3 separate regions of the Homo sapiens genome follow, and all the other regions are linked to region 3. Evidence: promoter capture Hi-C in 16 types of primary human blood cells and fetal thymus (Javierre and others, 2016). All regions are on one chromosome and are shown on one strand. The core of a region is centred on a gene start or on the middle of the fragment in contact, and the rest is flanking DNA. Distances in the headings are between cores, read along the strand shown.

The links. Contacts are between HindIII fragments. The CHiCAGO score rates a contact against its expected background, and 5 or more counts as called.
Region 1: a contact is called between a fragment that was not itself captured here and the fragment with the promoter of SAMD7 in region 3, in 2 of 17 cell types (total B cells and naive B cells). The highest score is 5.4, in total B cells.
Region 2: a fragment that was not itself captured here is called in contact with the fragment with the promoter of SAMD7 in region 3 in 2 of 17 cell types (naive B cells and total B cells); the score reaches 5.6 in naive B cells.

What each region holds. Positions count from the first base shown.
Region 1 is chr3:169,974,954-169,978,052 of GRCh38, reverse strand. SEC62 (SEC62 preprotein translocation factor) reads right to left here. Exons shown (of 8, transcript NM_003262.4): 2 at 2,337-2,445; 3 at 1,002-1,107. Among named protein-coding and RNA genes, the nearest start is that of SEC62, 9.7 kb to the right of the region's middle. The HindIII fragment of the contact is 1,521 bases long and covers 1,047-2,567 here.
Region 2 is chr3:169,998,834-170,001,906 of GRCh38, reverse strand. No RefSeq gene overlaps it. Among named protein-coding and RNA genes, the nearest start is that of SEC62, 34 kb to the right of the region's middle. The HindIII fragment of the contact is 567 bases long and covers 1,122-1,688 here.
Region 3 is chr3:169,910,088-169,913,484 of GRCh38, reverse strand. SAMD7 (sterile alpha motif domain containing 7) reads right to left here and starts at 1,913. Exons shown (of 9, transcript NM_001304366.2): 1 at 1,664-1,913. The HindIII fragment of the contact is 322 bases long and covers 1,746-2,067 here.

The DNA.
Region 1 (3,099 bases), core at 558-3,057, 65 kb before region 3:
CTGCCTCGGCCTCCCAAAGTGCTGGGATTACGGGCATGAGCCACTGTGCCTGGCCGAAACCTACTGTTTCTAAAAGGTCTGTTAGTAACCTCTAGTCTTTGGCAACTAAGAATTTTAAGAAATATTCAATAATTCTTTAACTTGACAGCTTAAGAAACCAGGTTGTGAAATAGTGGTTTTTAAGAGGGTTCTTATGTGGCTGATACTTTAGGTGCCATTAAATAAAATATTAGTACACATAAAATAATCTAAAATCCCAAAAGATAAGCTTTAGTGTTATGAAAACAAAATTTAGTTAACATATATTAAGAAAATGCTTAGTATTAAGTAAACCAAGAAAAAAAAGAAAAGAAATGGAAAGAAAAACCAGCATACTTCCTTCCAAAAGGAAGGTGATTTTGTCTTTTAGGTAAACCACTTAACATCAAAAGTTTTTTCAAAACAGAAAAAGTATCTATTATGAAAAATATATGTATATTACTGAATTAGCTGTATTTCATCTTGAAATTCTCAGAAAAAGATAAGGTAGATGTTGCAGCTTCCTTGATTTTAGAAGAAATACTACATTAGCAAACACTGAACCAAATAGGAAAGGGTATGAGGCTTATGGCTCAGGGTGCAGGCACTAAAAAAGTAGCGGTAACACAGCTAATAGGAATTCCTGCAAAAGTTTTGAAAAAAAGACTCCTCAACCAATTTGCTCTACAAAAGAAAAAACTTTCTTTTCTACTGTAGGCACTGGTATATGACTTTTGTTGCTGACCCTTCAGTAGGGCTCACAAATATATAAAATAGAACATAAATAAAAATTATATACAGTTAAAAGTATAATAGTCTAATACCAAACACATTTCCAGAGGTACCAAAGAAATCAGGTTACATGTGAAAACAGTATTTGAGTTATGTTGTAGTATCACTACATTTAATGATGTAAGGAGCTTCAGGACTATGAAGAAAATTTAAAATTATTATGTTATTCTTCACTAAGAAATAAACAGTACCTGTTGCAGTAGTCAACCACAGACTCCCTGGTTGTAAATAAAGCTTCCTCTCCTTTCTTGGCCTTTGCCCACTTTGAATCCAAAAGACAGTCCACTGCTTTTGAAGCTAAAGAAGAAATTCATTATTTTAAATTTAGCATACATGGGGATTTATGTCTATCTAAATAATATTTTATAAAGTAAAATTTCAACACTCTGGCAACAAAAAAGAAAACCAAACTCAACAGAAAACTAAATCTAACATGATCATGATTAGTAGTTCCCCAAAACCTCAACTTGTGAACTATATTAAGTATCTTTTAAAAGTAATGTTGGGAAATAATGGCATTCAGAAAGACCAACTAAAGCAAGTTAAATTAATGGGGAAATATTCAAAAATTTAAAATATCTGTATGTAACTATCACTCTTATTAATCACAAGCATATGTAGATAAACCAAAATGTTCACCACTCCCTGCAAGTAATAAAAATTCTCATCAAGTTTTACTCTAATACACTGAGGAAGAAGCTCTGTCAACAATCCACTGCTGTCACAAGAAACAGCTAAACATATTATATCTGAAGAGATTAGCACATCTACTTTTTAAAACTTGTAATGAATGTCAAATCATTAAAAACAGTAAAGAAAGAGACGATAAAGGACTTTTCCTCTACACTGGCAATTTAGTTTTTTTTTTCTTCTAAGAGACAGGTTCTTGCTCTGTCACCCAGGCTGGAGTACAGTGGTGGGATCATAGTTAACTGCAGCCTCTAACTCCTGGGCTCAAGCCATCCTCTCACTTCAGAGGCGCATGCCATCATACTCATCTAATTTTTTTGTAGAGATGGGGTCTCATTGTGTTGCATAGGCTGGTCTCGAACTCCTGGCCTCAAGCAACCCTCCTGCCTTGGCTTCCCAAAGTGTTGGTACTATAGGTGTGAGCCACGACACCCAGCTGCAATTCACTTTTAATTGATGAGAAAGGCAAACTCAACCCCTACTTATAAGCTCTGGTGTTATAAATGACATCAGCTTATAATGACATTGTTTGGGGAAAAAAAGCCAGTGCTCTTAGTTCCAAGTACGCATACTATCTAAACAAAAGGTAGTATTTTAAAACACTGAAAATAAATCCTATTTAAAAAAATTTCCAACAATTGTTATTAGAAAACATGTTATCTTTTTATTATAGACATTTTCAATCATAAAAGAAAAGAACAGAATAATCAACTGCCATATGTCCATCACCAGAACAATCACATTTGGAAAGCACTTTTAAAACTTCTACATATCCCAAATGTAGGTTAACTTCATAACATATGTACACTAATACGATTTTACTGATATAATCCTACCAATAAAATAATCAACCCGGTGACCCATCATATTGGTGGACTTTGTTGGACAGTTGAATCGAAGATACTTGGCCACAGCCTTCTCTTCTTTAGATGGTTCACCAACTTCCTGCAACATATGAATATTAATTTAGTATAATCATATACTTGAGAAATTCATGCGCTGAATAATAATTTACAAATCTATTTTATGAATCTTTTCAAGTGGAGTACAGGCCTTGCTTTCAAGCTTTCTCTGGAGCGACCTAATAAAGTATTCAAAAGACAAAAATGGAGATTTAAAGAAACTACGTTTTTCAAATATAAGTTGATAGAGGCAAAGCCTGTCTGCTTCTTGGCTTCAACTATGAGGCATTTGAGTTGTTTTTTCCACAATGGTAACTACTTTGTACCAGTTCACTTTCATTCTTATACGGTCTTTTTTTTTTTTTTTTTTGAGATGGAGTCTCACTCTGTTGCCTAGGCTAGAGTGCAGTGGTGCGATCTCGGCTCACTGCAACCTCTGCCTCCTGAGTTCAAGTGACTCTCCTGCCTCAGCCTCCCAAGTAGCTGGTATTACAGGTGCCTGCCACCATGCCCAGCTAATTTTTGTATTTTTAGTAGAGACAGGGTTTCGCCACGTTGGCTAGGGTGGTCTTGAACTCCTGACCTCAAGTGATCCGCCAGCCTAGGCCTCCCAAAGTGCTGGGATTACAGGCGTGAGCCATCGTCACCGGCCTATAGTCTCTTTTTATAAGCCACAAAACAGTAATTAAAAAGATAA
Region 2 (3,073 bases), core at 156-2,655, 89 kb before region 3:
TTCCTCTGTCTGGTCACCGCATCCCTCTCAATCTGTGTGGTGGGGAATAAAGAATGTGAGGTGGCAATGGGGCTGAACATTCGAGCTCATTTTCCAGGAGTTGGTTCCCTTCTATAGGAACATTATCCGTGTATAATCGTGGCTTGGCATTGATGGAACTGTTCAAACAAACATGTCATGCTCCCACCAATACTGTTAATAAGAAACTTTGGGTGGAGGCAGAGGGAAGCACGAGACATCTGAATCTTGCATATGTTTTCTTTTTTTGACGGAGTCTCGCTCTGTCGCCCAGACGAGTGTAGTAGTGTGATCTCGGCTCACTGCAGCCTCTGCCTCCTAGGTTCAAGCAATTCTCCTGCCTCAGCCTCCCGACTAGCTGGGACTACAGGTGTGCACCTCTACACCCGGCTAATTTTTGTATTTTTAGTAGAGACAGGGTTTCACCATGTTGGCCAGGATGGTCTTGATCTCCTGACCTCATGATCCACCTGCCTCGGCCTCCCAAAGTGCTGGGATTACAGGTATGAGCCACCACGCCCGGCTGCATATGTTGTTTGTTAAGTAGTGAAATTTGCAATCAGTCCTTTGGAAGGAGACTAAATTAGGGGTGGGATGGAAGGTGAGATAGAAGACAGCATATGCGATTGAAAAGTGGAGAATTCTGATGGTTCTTTTATTAAAGGACAATAAGAAAAAAAGTTATTAAGAATAGGGTTTCAATTTTGTAATTGAACCCTGTGGAGTATATGCAACTAGAAAGATGGGATAGAGATGCAACTTGCTTTGCTTTATATAGTATCCAACCACTCTTTATAGCTGTGCAGTCTGTCAGATATTGTCCAGACTCTGTAAGTACAGACCAGTTTCTGCAGTTACTGCTCTTGTTTTCAAGAGCCTTGTTGTGTACTAATTTACTTGTTACTGCCCTTTATTTTTTTCTTTGCAGTGCAAAGTGCCATAATTGTTAAAGGTGTATGTATTTGAGGATATGGCAAGTTAATAATAAATTCTTCCTTCTAATCCCCTCGAATGTTGATCATTAAAAACACTGTAATGTGAAATACTTTGTAACATGCATTTACTATATACTTAGTCTAAGGATAACTTCACAATCTGAAGCTTGAAGTTGGTGAGCAGAAATACAATTTAAAATCATAAGCTGGTCAATAATTTGTTCTTCTGAAAAAATGGTGTCTTTGGTTCCACACAACATGTTCTTTTTCCAGATCGTTAATTTCTGAATACTCTTAATATAAAGTATACATGGTATGATCCCATTTATTTACTATCTCCTCACCTCAGTGAACAGAGACATACATGTTACACATATAAGAGCTATAGAAGGATATATATGAGTTTTAACAGTAGTTGTCTCTGAAGGTAGGTGCTATGGTTTCAATGTCCCCCTCAAAACTCATGCTGAAATTTAATTGCCATTGTGATGATATTAAGAGGTGGAACCTTTAAGAGGTGATTAGGCCATAAGGGCTCTGCCTTCACAGATGCATTGTTATTATCATGAGAGTGGGCTTGTTATAAAAGCCAGTTCAGCCCCCTCTTGCTCACTGGCTTTCATCTTGTCTTGCCCTTCTGCCTTCCACCATGGGATGCAGCATGAAAGCCCTCACTAGATCCCAGTGCCATGCTCTTGGACTTCTCAGCCTCCAAACTCATGAGTCAAATAAGCTTCTTTTTTTTTTTCTTGAGACAGAATCTCACTCTCTTGCCCAGGCTGGAGTGCAGTGGTGTGATCTCAGCTCACTGCAACCTCTGCCTCCTGGGTTCAAGCGATTCGCCTGTCACAGCCTCCCAAGTAACTGGGACTACAGGTGCACACCACCACACCCAGCTAATTTTTATATTTTCAGTAGAGTCGGGGTTTTGCCATGTTAGCCAGGCTGGTCTCGAACTCCTGACCTCAGGTGATCCACCCGCCTTGGCCTCCCAAAGTGGTGGGATTACAGGCATGAGCCACCATGCCCTGTCAGTTTATTTTCTTTATAAATTACCCAGTCTGTGGTATTCTGTTATAGCTACACAAAATGGACTAAGACAGTAGGTTTGTGAGTTTTCTGGTTATTTTTGCTTATAAGTTTCTGATTTTTCCGTAATAAGAAAATAAATTGTTTTTAACAACAAGAGGGGAGTTGTGGTTAGAATGTGTAAATCTGAGAAATACTGGAAGTATCCAGAAAATATCTAAGCCTTGCTCCTTGCCATGCCATTTTCTATGTGATTAGTGTAGTCTAAGATGCAAATCTGAATGTGTCACTCTCCTGCTTTGAGTCAATCTGCTCCAAAGGTATTTTAGTGTCACTGTTCATACTTACTGTGTGCAACTCAGTCATCTTTCAGTTCCCAGTGACAGAAATCTCATTCAAAATAACTGAGAAAAAATGATGAATCTGTTGGCTCATGCAACTGAAAAGCCCAGGGATGGCTTTAGGCCAGGCTAGATCTGGGAGTTCAAAGATGGCATTAAGGCCTTGTCTTCCTGATCCACCCTTGGTTCTGTTTTTTTCATGTTGGTTCTATTTCTAGACAGGCTCCATTCATGTGAAGGCAGCATAGCCATTGGTTTCTTCAGGTCCACATGGTCCTTGGAATTCAAGACCCCTGAGTAAATGAGAAGACTTCAATTGGCCTGGTGTGAACTGAGTGCTCATCCTTGAGGCCAGTCACCGTGGAATGGAATGAGGAGCACCACAGAAGGGAAAGGAATATTTTCTAAAGGAAGGGATTCTGGTCAAACAATGACTTGCCACCTGTATCCCTCTCTAAACGTTTCTCTTTTCCAGCTGCACCTTAACTAGTTTCAGTTTCAGGGGATGCCATGCTCACTCTGCTGTCTTATTTTTGCACATCTTGCTGCAGTGGCCCAAAATTCCCCTAGTCTTTACTTGGCTAATACCCACTCATTCTTCAAGATCTAGCTCATGATACTTCTATGGGATGCCTTTCCTGACCTTCCTAATCTGGGCTGGGTATTCACTTATGTGATCTCATAAGCACGTCACAGATACTTTTGACATTACACAACACCATTGCCACTGTTTGCATGAATACTTGTCTC
Region 3 (3,397 bases), core at 664-3,163:
TAGTGCTAATTCTGTCTCAACTGATTAGGGCAGTAGTAGTAAGACATGAACTTCATGAACTAAAGCCCTTGCCAAATCAGCAGATATTCACGGAATGATTTCCCAGTGCCCAGGAGCCGGGTGCCAATTTTATTATATTTGTCTGTTATTGGCTATACTGTGATCTTTCATTAAAATCAGTGCAATTTGAGTTTGGAAAACCCTATATTTGACTAATCGTATGTAGAATATTTATGGTATGTATGATGCATGTTTTCTGATTACATACATTAAAATGAATTAATTTTTAAGTAACTGCTGTATCTGGTAAGTTTTTGTATGTGAAAAGTAGATCAGTAGAATTAAATGTTTCCACAGTTCTGAGATAAATAAATGTAAGATAAATAGATGTAAATTCTTAAATTAAAATGAGAGCAATTTTTACAATTCAGGCCTGGCTTCTTGCGAGTTTTCTTGGCCTTCTCTTAGGCAGTACCCCAACAACTCCAAAGTAATTCCTCCTACTTATGTTTTGCAGAGGCCTTTGTAGTCCATCTCCTCCAACTCTCTCTGAGCACAACCCAAATAGGCCTTCTCCTGGGTCCCTCCATATCTTGCTCCCCTTCCCATCTCTGCCAAGGACGGAGGAGAACTTTAGAAAGACAGTTCATACCGAAGCACTTGGCAGTGCTGCTAAAATGTATTTCACTTTTCCTAAAGGCATAAGCTTTAGGACTTTTCTAACTGCATTTCACCATAGCACATACCCTGGAAAGCATTGAAGACAGTGGGTTACGTGCTGGCTGCTGTCACTTCTTATTTCTTTTTACTCTGGAAGCTCATTTTCATTAGACCTATCCATGTCTTCTTGAAATGTCAGGTTCTAGGCACAATTACAAGTATTGTAAAGAAAAAGGTAAACCTTTGACATCATTAAAGAAGTCAAAATTATGTAATTTCTACTGGACTCAATATAATTTATGTGCAACTACAGTTTGTATAAATTATGTTCACTTTCTTCAAAAGATTGTGAAGCAAAGTCCATTATATATAAATCTGTAGAGACTAAAGTGAAATTCTAGCAGTACTCATATAATGGAACTGAATAGTAGGTGTTTTAGTTAGATAGTCTTAAAGAATGAATTAAGGAATATCAATATAGATTTTATTTCATGATTATCATTGATTGTTCCTCAATGTTTTTCTGAAATTTTCTACTCTGACATTTCATGGTTCATACATCATGACAATTTTTGGAATATAGATATCTATAGTAATGGGGGGCCATTAAAATAATAATATATAGTAAATAAACAGCAGTAATACATAGAGGTAGGTACTTCATCTGTTTGAAGATAATAAAACTACAGTAAATTTACATACAACTTTGAACTGACTTTATCTTAAATAAACTTCATTTTACTTTCACTTAAAAAACTCCAAAAACTAAGACCAGGCAGTGTTTATTTGGTAGGAGTGGTATATCATCTTTACTCGTTAGTAACTTCAGTCAAGTAGGAATTTATTAGCTCACATACTGTTAGTAATAGCCAGTAAAGTCTACACATAAACCTAAGCATTTCCTTTAAGATAAAGATGTCCTTTTATTTTATATGTGAAACATTTTACTCAGAGTAACTGGCCTCAATTTTGGGCTAATCAATGTGTAGAGTTACATACTTACATCCTCTATGAAGACTTCTTGTCTTTGATATTGCAGATGGAAGAACCATACAAAGACTTTCTGGCCTTCAACTGCAGAAGCTTCTCTGGCTGCGGGTTGAAAGGTACATCTGACAATTCTTTCAAAAATGGTCTTAATTCAGTTTAACCTTGCTTTAAATACAAATTCAACTAAGTTGATTAGTCCTATTTCATGACAGAAACTTTGCCCTCTGATATCCTCTACAGATAGGCTAAAAGATGTTAAGCCCAAGGAAAGTGCCCTGCAAGGTGCATAAACCTGTCTCAGAGCTTAGCCTTTAGTGTAATCCTTCCTTAGCCTTTAAGATGCTTTGTGGGCATTCACTTAATACCACTGTTCAACTTGACACAAAAGAAATATACTATGCAAATAAGTAATAAGCTTTTCTTTGATGGAACTATATAGCCTATTCCATATTTCCAACAGGTTTCAAGTGGAAACATTTCTTTTGCGAGTAGGAAAAAACCTAAGTTATTTTCCACAGAGCTGAAACATTTGATGAAAGATGGCAGTCTATTTTAAAAAGAAGCTTCTATAATGGACAACTGTACTTTAATTCTCACAGGCAGTGAGAAAACCCTTTATCATCTGTGTGAGAGCTGTGATCTATATAAGAGGGAAAACACGGAATTTTGAAAATGTGACCTGTTATATTTGCTAGAGAAACATTTATAGCTTGAAAAAGAACATCCATATTTTTTGATTCCTAGTAATTTACTAGTAGGAAGTACAAAATAAGAATTGAATATAAGAAATTTAAGTTGTGTTTCAAGTAATGCTTTAGGCTTCCAGTTTGAAGGTAACCTGCTCCTTTGTTGACACACATTTTTATCATTGGCTGTTGAACTCATTATAAGAAATAGCATGTGGAACTGACTGTATTTATTCCAGGGTTATTGTTCATAAAGCAGTGGTCAACAGCAGGGACTTAGATGACCAACAGACTCAATAAGCCTCAGCACCACCACTCATTAGCTGTATGGCCTGGCCAAGTTACTGAACTTCTCTGAGCCTTAGTTTCCTCATCTCAGAAGAGCCCTTCTTGGGAAAGGGAAGGCAACAAGGTAGACAAAATGCTTGAATAGTTCTCACTAAACATTAGCCATTATGTTAGGTAACTATATTGCACAGAGTCCTCTGTTGAGGATCCATGGGAGGAATTTTTCTCAGCTTGTAGTACTAGGGACAATTGTTTTGTTGTTGTTATTGTTGTTGTTGTTGTTCTGAAAAATAAGGCCAAAATAAAACCTCAGGAATCACGTAACTAGTGTGTTGCATTCTTTGTGTTGGTTAGTAGGAAGTTCAGGACCTGCCTTTAGGCATGCATTTTATTATATTTTTATTTATTTATTTTTGAGACAAGTTCTTGCTCTGCCACCCAGGCTAGAGTGCAGTGGCACAATCATGGCTCACTGTAGCCTCTATGTCCCCAGACTCAAGCAATCCTCCCACCGTAGCCTCCAAGTAGCTGGGACCACTGGTGCACGACCGCATGCCTGGCTAATTTTTTTTCTGTATTTTTTTGTAGAGACAGGCTTTCGCCATGTTGCCTAGGCTGGTCTTGAACTCCTGGACTCTAGCAATCCACCCACCTCGGCCTCCCAATGTACTGGGATTATAGGCGTGAGCCACCATGCCCAGCCTAGACATGCATTTTAAAACCAGAAATGATCTATGGCTTCATCTTATTTTTCCTAACATTATTTTCCCTTT